4 separate regions of the Homo sapiens genome follow, and all the other regions are linked to region 1. Evidence: promoter capture Hi-C in human tissues and cell types (Jung and others, 2019). All regions are on one chromosome and are shown on one strand. The core of a region is centred on a gene start or on the middle of the fragment in contact, and the rest is flanking DNA. Distances in the headings are between cores, read along the strand shown.

Region 1 (2,709 bases), core at 117-2,616:
GGAGGGGGTGCAGGGGAGTGGGATTTAAGGGTAGATTGGCTGGGAAATGAGGCATTTGGAAGAGATTTTCAAAAACTAAACTCTACGGAGTTCTTGATACGGTGTATTCATTCATTCCGCAGACATTTTCTCCTCACATCCTCAAAGCACCTGAACCTGCCTTTCAGGAGTTCACAGTCAGTGGGTGGGGTGACCACTTTAACCCTTTCACAGCTGTTTGCTGGGTCCAGATCCAGCGTTCAGGGCAGGCGGGAAAGTAAGAGATGAAATCAAGGAGGCTGTGGTGTGGCGAGGAGGGGTGTGAGGACAGCACCAGGGAACCTTCACTTTTTAAAGCCAACCCTTTGCGGCTTTGAGGCCGCCGTGGTGCATTGTTTGCTGGTGAGACAAGCCATCTAGGAACCTGGTCTTCTTAGCCTCAGCCTGGTCTGACTCCACAGCTGAGATTTATAAAGGGGGCGTCTGGAGCTGGATGAACCACTCAGAACACCCTCAGTGCTTCCCCTTGACCCCTTCTAGGTTAGACCTGAGAAAGGGCTTTCTAAAGAGTAGAGTTATCTGCCGGGGCAGAGTGCGTGAGGTTTGCTCAGGGGCAGGGGCTGTGCTGAAGGCCTGGCTATGATTTCTCCAAGCTGAGTGCCCCTTGCCATCCCATTCCATGTTGCCTGCCCGTTCCTTAACTTGCAAGAGGCAACAGCAAAGCCAGATCAAAGCAGGTGGGATGTGCAGCAGAGAGAAAGCAACCAGAGCTTGCATTTGCAATGCACCGCACCATTCTCACAACCCAGTCACGTTTCATTTGCATCTCCTCATGACCCCAAGTGGACAGGTATATGAATATTTGGCAGGGGAGAAAGGTGGGAATCAGAGAGTGGGTAAAAGGTCCTAAGCTCTCTAGGGAGAATTTCTCTGTTGAAACCTGTCCCCAGAGGTCCCAGAGGGCCTAACCTATCACCCTCATGATGAGAACAGGTTCTGCCAGACCACCAAGCCCAGCCCCGCCACTCTCTTATGTCCCTGCTGTTTTAGAAAGACATGATCTCGGCCCCTCCCTTGTCCCCACTGGCACCAAAGGCTGACCCCTTCTCCAGGTCTGAAAGGGCAGGTGCACCCCTCCTGGGACAGCAGGGGGCATTCTCTGGAAGTAGCTTCCAATGCCCACCAAATCAGAACTGATTTCTCCAGGAAGCACCCCTATGCGCTCCACCCGCATCCTCCACCCCCATTCCACAGGGTCAGTCTGGGTGTCCAAGACCCTGGTACTGTTCCTTCTCACATGAAGAGGCTCACTCACCCAGGTCCATGACGCTCTCTGGGCGGTAAAACCACACAGGAAGGCTGTGCCCGGCCTCGCACTACCCCTGTCTGGGGAGGAAGTGGTTCAAGCCCCTTTTAAGTTGTCGGAGAAGCCACCCTCTTCCCTGCCCCTCCCACCCTTGCTCCTCCCCCCAGCCCTCCCTGACTCATGCAGGGCCCCTTCAATGCCTTCAGAGATAAAGGGGCAGAAGAAAGGTGACAGAGGGTGACAGTCGCTGGTCATAGGATCCTGAATCATTAGGTCATTTACATTCAAAAAGCCCCCTGCGCTGCCTGGCAGAATCTAGATGAGGGGCCATTTACTGATTCAACAAATATTTATAGCATGAATATCACATGCCAGGCCATGGGTTAGATGTTGGGGAGTCAGAGATGTGTGAGAGAAGTGTCCCCATCCTTCCCTTGCTCTGCTCAGTGTCACAGTGGAATATAGTCCCAAATGGCTTTCCCTCTGGCTTCTGGGTAGTTTAGGCCAATGGGAGGCACTGACACATAATGACAGGTAAAAGGGAAGAGATATGCCACGATGTATCTTTTTTCTCCCCCCTTCCCCTCCCCTCCCCTCCCTCCCCTTTCCCTCTTCTCCCCTCCCTTCCTTTTCCTTTCTTAATGACAGCTTTATTGAGCTATAATCCACATCCCATAAAATTTACCTTTTTAAAGTATAGAATTCAATGGTTTTTGTATGTTCACAGAGTTATGCAACCATCACCACAATACATTTTAGAACATTTTTTCTCACTCCCTCTCAAGAACCCTGTAATCACTAGCAATGACTGCTCCCCTCCCCTCCTGTCATCGAAAGCCCCTGGCAACCACAAATCTACTTTCTGGCTCTATAGATTTTCCTATTCTGAACATTTCACATAAATAGAAGTATCAATATGTGACCTTCACATCTGGCTTCTTTCAGTTAGTGTTTTCAAGGTTACCTATGTGGTGGTATGGATCCATTCCCCATTCCTTTTTATGGCTGAATAACATTCCATTGTATGGATATGCCACATTTTGTTTGTCTGTCATCAGTTGGATGTTTGGGCTGTTTTCCCTTTTAGCTATTATGAATGATGCTGCTATAAATATTTATGTGCAAGTGTTTGTGTGGACATATGCTTTATTTCTCTTGGGTATATACCTAGAAGTGAAATTGTTGAGTCATATGGTAATTATATATTTAACATTTTGACGAACTATCAAACTGTTTTCCAAAGTGACTACACCATTTTGTTCCCATCAACAATGCGTGAGGGTTCCACATTGTCAACAAAACTTACTATTGTCCATTCTTTTGATTCTAGCCATCCTAGTGGCTGTAAAGTGGTATCTCATTGTGTTTTTTTTCTTTTTTCTTTTTTTTTTTTGGAGATGGAGTCTTACTCTGTTGCACAGGCT
Region 2 (2,709 bases), core at 80-2,579, 230 kb after region 1:
TTGGAATTTTATTTTAGTTAACGTTTTTCCTTAGTTGACTAATGATTTACTGAGCATCTACTTTGTGCTTGGCAGTATTCTAGGCAGGCAGAGAAATATATTGATATTTTGTCCCAGGAATATAATAACTATGTATAAGTTGATTGTAACATTATAATACAAATCCTTTGCTTCCTTTTATCTTTTAGGTGATAGTTCATTCTACTTGGGATGAAATAGAAATTTTATTTAACAAATTAAATAAATAGAAACTTTTTTCTAGAGCAGGATTTTCTTCTGTCACTTACTTTAGCCTGAAATCATCAGCAGCCAGTCTGGCATTATCAATCTGCAGAATGACATTAGCATTAGTAGTAGTGGAGGAGATAATCTAGAATAAACCAAAACAGAGAACACAACAAGTAAGTATGCTTTTATGTGATTCATTATTTCAGGAAATGAAAAAGGTTACTCAAGTTTTTGCATAAAAATTTCACCTCCTTATGTAATAATCAAAATGTTTCAAGTTTAACTTTTAAAAATTAAAGACATGGTTTTATTTATTCTCATATATTCCCCTAAATTTAGAACTACAATACTTTTTTATTCATATGCCTATGAATGTACTTCAACATAAACAATGGAACTAATAACATTTTAACTACATTAAAATTCATGAATCAAAGGGCCCATTTTTGAATAGTAGGAAGAATTGTTTATCTAAATAAATAAATACAAGTTATAACAGTCATGAAGCATTTCTTATTGTATGTCTTTTGTTAGGTATTTCTTAGTTTTAAATACTTGGGTTAGTTCCAAATCTGTGATTTCTCACCTTATTCTTAAGATCCTCAATTGTTAGGTGATATCTGCTATAGTCATGATCAAGTCCACGGCAAGATCCAGGTCCGTATTTTTCATACCAACCCTTGATTTTTCTCTCTAATTCAGCATTTGCCTCCTCCAGAGCTCGCACATTATCCAGGTAGGATGCCAAGCGGTCATTAAGATTTTGCATGGTCACCTTCTCATTTCCAGAGAGGAGTCCCCCTTCGCTTCCAGCAAAGCCAATACAAGCAGCATTTCCAAGGGCACCACCAGCATGGCTCCCACCAGGAACACTGCCCAAGCCCCCTCCCAAGGCACAGGAAAATTCACTTCCAGCAACAGAGCCACCACATGCACTGCTGCCTGCAAAGCCTGCACCTCCATTGAGGGGTCTGACAGATCCAGCTCCAGACCTTAAGCAAACATGCCTGGATCCATTAGAAAATTGGAGAGACATGGTGTTTTGAGAAATGTTCACCTTGTCTATGCAAAACTGTAATGTCCCAAGAGAACAGAATATCATGCACTGATAATTTCTTTGGGTTTTTATATATCATTATTGGGGCGTTCCTATTTGAGTTATACATGCCAAAAGCAAAATGGCATCACTTAGATTAGCATAAAATTATGTATAATTGGGTGATTTTAAAAATAATTAATGTCTAACATCCCTCGGTGTTGCTTTGGGCTATTTCTTATCTTAAATATAATAGGGTTTGTTCTATATTAAGTTTATTAATTTAACTTCTAATTTTGAGTGAGTAATCCTTTCCTTTCATCTAGACCCTAGGCATATACTGTCATTATCTGGCGCCAGGTATTATCAAATTTTTTATAAAGTTAAGTAAGATTATGATAGAGTTCTGTGAGGTACAGTAGGGTCTCAATTACCATGGAGGGGTATAAAGGACTGCTAATTACAGAAACAGATATTTTATCCCACCAGAAAAAAATGTGTTATTTAGAAAACAGAGGCTAGTGACATCTCTGTTCTTACCATGATTATAACATCTATTTATTATCTTGGACAATGACACAAATATTGACCTATTATTTTGTTTAAAATAGCATGGTTATGATGTTTGGTGCTCTATGCTAAGTGCTAAAATGAAAGACATAGTGTTAACTAAATGCAGAAGTGAAAAATGCGTGATTACAATCTTTAAGAAATCTATTGTCAGGTCCAGACAGGGGCTGGATCATGGTTAGCTTTCTGTGCTGGTCTAAAGAGTTTGTAATGAATCCTAAGTAAAAAGCAGAGGGCAAAATGATCAGGTTGAAATGAAACAAGGTGGTCAATTACAAGGTTGGAATAATGGTCCAGGTGAGAAGGATGAAGGCAGTGGGGATGCAGAGAAGATGGCTTTGAGAGCATATGGTAATATGATTGAATTTGGAGAGTAGGGAATAAGGCAGAATTGGGGATAACTCTTAGGTAATTAATTTTAGATTCTGGGAACTCATAATATTCACTGAGATGGGGAATAGAGGAGGAGGAAGACACTGAGTTTAGGTTTGGACCAACTGGATTTGAGGGGTTGCCAGAATGTTCCAGATGAAGGTGACTGATAGCAAGAATGACTGTTTAGAATATGTATACTGAACTGGAAAAATACTTGACTAGCAATGAGTAAAAGAAAATTGGAGGGTCCAGCTCTCATTTATAATGATGTTCAACTGCATATTTGGAAGTAATCCTGGTGCAGGAATAGAAAGGATGATGATCAGATTGATGTGGGTTTTGGGATTTGAAGACAGGTCCAGAAGAAGGAAATAGTGGCAAAGAAATTTCTGGTGTTCTTGAGAAAACAATTGAGGCGATTGACTGTATGATCATATAGCAAGAAGAAAGTAAAACCAGAGGGACAGATGGACTGAAGAAAAGGGCAGAGGGTGAGTCAT
Region 3 (2,709 bases), core at 89-2,588, 200 kb after region 1:
GGAGAATATGAGCAAGATTTAGAACCACCCCTAGGCTTTAGTTCTAAATTTGCTTAGTCATTACCATGGTAGAGGCAGAGAGATGCATGTGCTGGAAAATGGAAAAACGGCTTTCCAGGTTCAGATTTTACAACAAACATTTGCTGATCACCCAGGCTAGGCATTGTAAGGGTAAACAAATCCTAGTGATCAGTGGGTATTATCTTCTTCTTTTATGTCCATAGACACTCAAACCCAAGAAGATCAACTTATTTACGTAGTCAATCAGGGACAGATTTGGGACCAGACATTAGAGCTAGTGCTCTTTCCACCTTATTCTGTTATTAATTGAGGTAACTGTGACTATGAAATGAAACACATTATTTTATTAGCAGGTCCTTAGTATTGCCACATTGGGATCAACTTTAGCAATTAAAAAGAATCAGATATTAAAAAAAATAACTTGCAATAGAAGAATTTTTAATGAAATGTCAAAAAAGGCCCCCAAAATAAAAACAAAAATTAGGGACAGAGCAGGATTTTTCTACTCTGGAAAAGGATTACATGCATAGAACATGAGAAAAGGAAGAGAAGGAGAACAAATTCTAGCCCTTTTAAGAACAGAAATGAATAATTTCCTTAGGTTATTTGACCAGTAGGATTTTTGCAAAGGCAGCCTTTCTTTCTTTCTTTCTCTCTCTCTCTCTTTCTTTCTTTCTTTCCAAATAACTTTTTCCTCATTATGGTGCTTTAGAAGGTACTCGTTGCTCTACTGTAATGTTGCTTATTTTAGAGGACTTTTCTTCAACTGAGTGGACTCTCAGTGAAAGGAGATTGCCAATTTGATCCAGTTCCTCAACCACTGTTTTAACAATAGTTTCTTCTGTTGAGTCTAAAATAAAATAAATAAAACATTAGTGGTCATTTTTTAACAGGTTGAAAAGTAGCCATAATAGGTATGCTTTTTGTTTGTTTGTTTTTTTGAGAAGGAGTCTCGCTCTGTCACCCAGGCTGGAGTGCAGTGGCATGATCTCGGCTCACTGCAGCCTCTGCCTCCCGGGTTCAAGAGATTCTTCTGCCTCAGTCTCCCGAGTAGCTGGGATTACAGATGCCTGCTACAATGCCTGGCTAATTTTTGTATTCTTAGTAGAGATGGAGTTTCACCATGTTGACCAGGCTGGTCTCGAACTCCTGACCTCAAGTGATCCACCTGCCTTGGCCTCCCAAAGTGCTGGGATTACAAGCATGAGCCACTGCACCTTTTAAAAAATGTTTGCTTTTTAAAAATGTTTTTTGCAAGTTTGCAGTAAATCGATATATAATACTGTGTTTGAAGTCAGTGTTTAGCAAGATCCTGGACTATCTCTCTTATATTTGCCACTGCTTTTAGAGCAATGGGCATTTGAAAACATAAATGAAACATGGATTAAAACAATCTAAGTATCAGGCAGTAAAGGCTGGCTGCAAGTAATGTTGTCTTCTTTTAAATACCAACTTGCCCGATTTTTGTGGTTTAAGATAAAGTAGCTCTTTTATCAAAGTATTGAAACTATGAAAGATAATACATTCCAGGTAAGAAACATGTTGTGGGATTAATTCCTCATTTCAATAATTTCATAATTTGACCACATCTGTTGATCTACGGGAATATAAAATACAAATATTAAGAACTATCATAATGACCCCTCATCCCTTTATTCACCAGAAGTAAACTTAAAAACAAATTTTATTTAGTTAAAAAATAAGTAACTTAGTTAACACAATTGATGGAGTTTAAGGAGTTACACCAGGTAAAAAAAATCTATCTATACCTTTGGCTTGATTTCCAGAATTCACAGGCCTGTATCCTTTTGATTTGTAACATGTGGATTTGCTTTTTCTGTGAAGAGAAGAGTAAATTATTGCATTTTTTTTTCTTTCCTTAGTGAGCTTATAAATACCTCTAAATTGGAAATAAGAGTTTTGGAATTCTAGTTTCAATAAGATTCAAATTCCTTATATATTTAAAGGACATTAATAAGCTTTTCATGACTTCAACATAGTGAAAGAAGAGATTAAATGGATGTTTATGAATAGAAATTTTCTCATGACCAGAAATTACCTCTTTCATCTAGCAATATTTCTCACTCTGACTTTTCAATCAACTGGCCAGTGAATGTGTTTGGAGTGCCTACCATGAAAAAGGTGTTGCTGGGCTAGGTGCTGCAGAAGATATAGAACCAAGACACAGTTTTTACAGTTGGAAATAAAGTATACACATGCAAAAAGTTACCTATAACATGAAAAGTGCTGTAAATTAAGTGAAAAGTGAGTGGTGTAATGAGTGCTTTGTTCTGAGGAGGGAGCAATCACTGTTGGGTTCCTGTGAGAATAGGCTGCAGAGGGCTGATGGGCCTTGGAGGGTGCAAGACGTTACCTCCTCACTATGCGGCCATGGGCAAGCATTTAGTAATAGGCAGTGATTACCAAATACCTTTTCTGTGTATGCCACTGTCATGAGCTCTTTACCTATGTAGTGAGACATTATAGTTAAGACTTGTTACAAGTATGGTTTTGGCTTTATCACAATTTCATCAACGAGGAAACTGCATTTGAAAAGGTTAAACAATGTGCTCATAATTCACCCAGTATTTGATTCACAGCCAGGGCTGCAATTCCAGGGCTGTTGCTATTGACTAAGAAACTATGGTGCCTCTCCAATTAATTCTTCCTATATCTTCATTGCTCATC
Region 4 (2,709 bases), core at 116-2,615, 180 kb after region 1:
AATAAAAGTACTTTTATTCTTTCTGAATTTGTTTCAGTTTGAATTATAGGGTAAGCCTTATGAAAACCTATGAGGAAATCTATTATTTTGAAAGAGTTTTTATATAATAAAAGCTGTTAGATGTTCACATATTTATATTGCACACATAAACATTCTAAAGACAGTATCACCAATGATAACTTGCTAAAGAAGAGGTTTATTGAATACAAAGAATTGACAACAGATTTCTGTAGGATAATCAAATGAGTCATATTTGTGTGTGGCATTCTTCTAGATGAATGGGGAGATGCTGTCATTGATTGCCCAGAAAGAAAGTAACAGAAAGACAACAGGTTAGACATTTTTCTTAGACATGCACATTTTTCTGGACAGATACATAATGCCTTTTCTTCGCAGGGGCTATGTGGCATACGTTCTCTGTTGCATCTCAAATTAATTGCTTTGAGATTTCTCTTCCAGGGAGTGGAGCCTGGTGGTAAGTATTTTGCTGCGTTGGTCTACCTCCTCAAGAACTTTCTTAACCACTATGGCTTTGGCTGGGTCTGAGCATTAAAAATTAAAAGGAGATTTTATGTAGTTAAAAAAAGAATAAAAATTATATCATTTAAAGGAATAATAGGATTTGCATACAGAATGAACTTTGCACTAAGCACAAATACTTAGACTCATTTTTGGTGAATAATTTTGATTATTTGGTTAGAAAAAACATGGTGACATGTTATTTTGTTTAAAATTAGCACAAATCACTAATATTAGACATCTAGCACATATGGATATCTACTACAAATCTTTATTGTATGTATTCTTACCAAGCCATGGTAATATAAGAACAATCAAGCTATGCATTAAAAATGAAGTAGTTGGGTATATATACCCAGAGGAATAGAAAACATTCTACCATAAAGACACATGCATGTGAATGTTCATTGCAGCATTATTCACAATAGCAAGAACAAGAAATCAACCTAAATGCCCATCAGTGACAGACTGGATAAAGCCATAAACACCATGGAATATTATGCAGCCATGAAAAAGAACAAGATCATGTCTTTTACAGGAACATGGATGGAGCTGGAGGCTATCATCCTTAGCAAGCTAACGCAGGAACAGAAAACCAAACACCACATGTTCTCACTTATAAGTGGGAGATAAATGATAAGGACTTATGAACACAAAGAAGGAAACAACAGATACTGGGTTCTACTTGAGGGGGAAGGGTGGGAGGAGGAAGAAGAGCAGAGAAGATAACTATTGGGTACCGGGCTTAATTCCTGGATGATCAAATAATATGCACAACAAACCTCCGTGACACGTGTTTACCTATGTAACAAACCTTCCAATGTACCCCCAAACCTAAATTAAAAGTTAAAAAATAAAAAATTAGCATTGCACAACAGATTTCATTTTAATTACCTTTGACTTGACTTCCCACATTTCCAGATCCATAATCTTTAGACTTGTAACCCCCAGACTTACAGGCTCTGTGAAAACATCGCAAAAGAGGGTGATTTAGAGAGAACCCCATCAATTCTAGGATCACCATATGGTTTTCTTTAGCTCTTTGGTAGTTTCAACTGTGTAACCCAGTATTTGATTTATAGTGTTTGCTGATTTCTGTAGAGGTATGAATACCTTCTCCATTGCTGATATCAAGTCACCAAGTGACATCACTAAGTGAGGGGTTAGGAAGAGAAGAGATAGGCAGAAGAGGCTGTCATGAGATGGTAACAGCAGTTCTAGCATGCCACTGGGTGTATTTATACAACTTAGGTTGAAATTCACCCTTTTAAGTTTTGCAGGTTTATGAATTGTGACAAATTTATATAGCTGTGTAAGGATTTACATTTGGAAGCATCACTCTAGTCAATGAGGGAGGGTTTGATGATAGGTGGGGAAGAGTGGTGTAGATCGCTTCAGCAGTTAGGCAATTACAAGATACTTTTCCTAAGTGGGGTTTTCTCTGAGACTGTAATGTTTTTGTTCTGCTTCAGCATTAAGAAGTGATTTTTTTTTCTGTATGATTCCTTTTATATTAACATCAAGAATGGATAAAATAATAACTGCCAAGGGAAGTGGGGCACAGAAGAACTTTCTGGGGTGATGAAAATGATCTTCATTGTGAATTCAGGAAGCTTCCTGCTCCTAACAACCCTGAGCTCTAGACATCCAGACTTGTGGCCATGGGACTTTATCAGTGCTATGAAGACAGGATTCTGTGAGTGCTGAGCTCCAGAAACCATTTCCAGAGTCAGAATCCTGGTCCACATATTGAAACTCCATTTAGCCTCCCGTTTGTTCTTTTCACTCTAGAAGTGATATTTTCAATGTTCATATCTTGAACTCGGTGCCTGCTGCATATTGGTTTAAGATATTAATTTGTATTTTGGCAGTTGAGTATGTATTATATTTAATATTTAGTATTCATGATAATAAATGCATGCAGCCAAATTATGTCCGCTTTCCAGTGGAAAGTGGGATCTAAGTTGCAAGCAGATTTCAGTATATTACGCCATCTATGCAGATTATTTTACCTACCCATCATCTCCTCCTATAAGGAGACAGTAGGTCTCAATTTCTTTTTCCAGGTGGAGCTTGATGTCCAGGAGCTGCTCATACTCCAGCTTCTGGCCCTCGGTCTCGGTTCTGACCTGGTGCAGCTGCTCCTCCAGGGCCCCGATCTGAGCCTGGATCTGCGCCAGCTGCGCACAG

The links. The method cuts DNA at HindIII sites, captures the fragments that hold promoters and counts their contacts. A contact is called where the count stands out against the background at its distance.
Region 2: the fragment with the promoter of KRT28 here is called in contact with the fragment with the promoter of CCR7 in region 1 in 1 of the 25 tissues and cell types used here (mesendoderm cells).
Region 3: a contact is called between a fragment that was not itself captured here and the fragment with the promoter of CCR7 in region 1, in 2 of the 25 tissues and cell types used here (IMR-90 fibroblasts and mesendoderm cells).
Region 4: a contact is called between a fragment that was not itself captured here and the fragment with the promoter of CCR7 in region 1, in 2 of the 25 tissues and cell types used here (IMR-90 fibroblasts and pancreas).

What each region holds. Positions count from the first base shown.
Region 1 is chr17:40,564,106-40,566,814 of GRCh38, forward strand. CCR7 (C-C motif chemokine receptor 7) reads right to left here and starts at 1,367. Exons shown (of 3, transcript NM_001838.4): 1 at 1,295-1,367. The coding sequence starts at 1,304. RefSeq lists an enhancer at 6-922. The HindIII fragment of the contact is 11,021 bases long and covers 1-2,709 here.
Region 2 is chr17:40,798,630-40,801,338 of GRCh38, forward strand. KRT28 (keratin 28) reads right to left here and starts at 1,330. Exons shown (of 8, transcript NM_181535.3): 1 at 815-1,330; 2 at 288-370. The coding sequence starts at 1,264. It overlaps LOC105371776 (a long non-coding RNA gene), which reads left to right and starts at 2,705. Exons shown (of 4, transcript XR_934753.2): 1 at 2,705-2,709. RefSeq lists an enhancer at 1-508. The HindIII fragment of the contact is 10,010 bases long and covers 1-2,709 here.
Region 3 is chr17:40,765,796-40,768,504 of GRCh38, forward strand. KRT26 (keratin 26) reads right to left here. Exons shown (of 8, transcript NM_181539.5): 7 at 1,791-1,858; 8 at 443-871. The coding sequence ends at 720. Among named protein-coding and RNA genes, the nearest start is that of KRT26, 5.1 kb to the right of the region's middle. The HindIII fragment of the contact is 8,204 bases long and covers 1-2,709 here.
Region 4 is chr17:40,747,845-40,750,553 of GRCh38, forward strand. KRT25 (keratin 25) reads right to left here. Exons shown (of 8, transcript NM_181534.4): 6 at 2,536-2,709; 7 at 1,414-1,481; 8 at 177-542. The coding sequence ends at 433. Among named protein-coding and RNA genes, the nearest start is that of KRT25, 6.1 kb to the right of the region's middle. The HindIII fragment of the contact is 7,107 bases long and covers 1-2,709 here.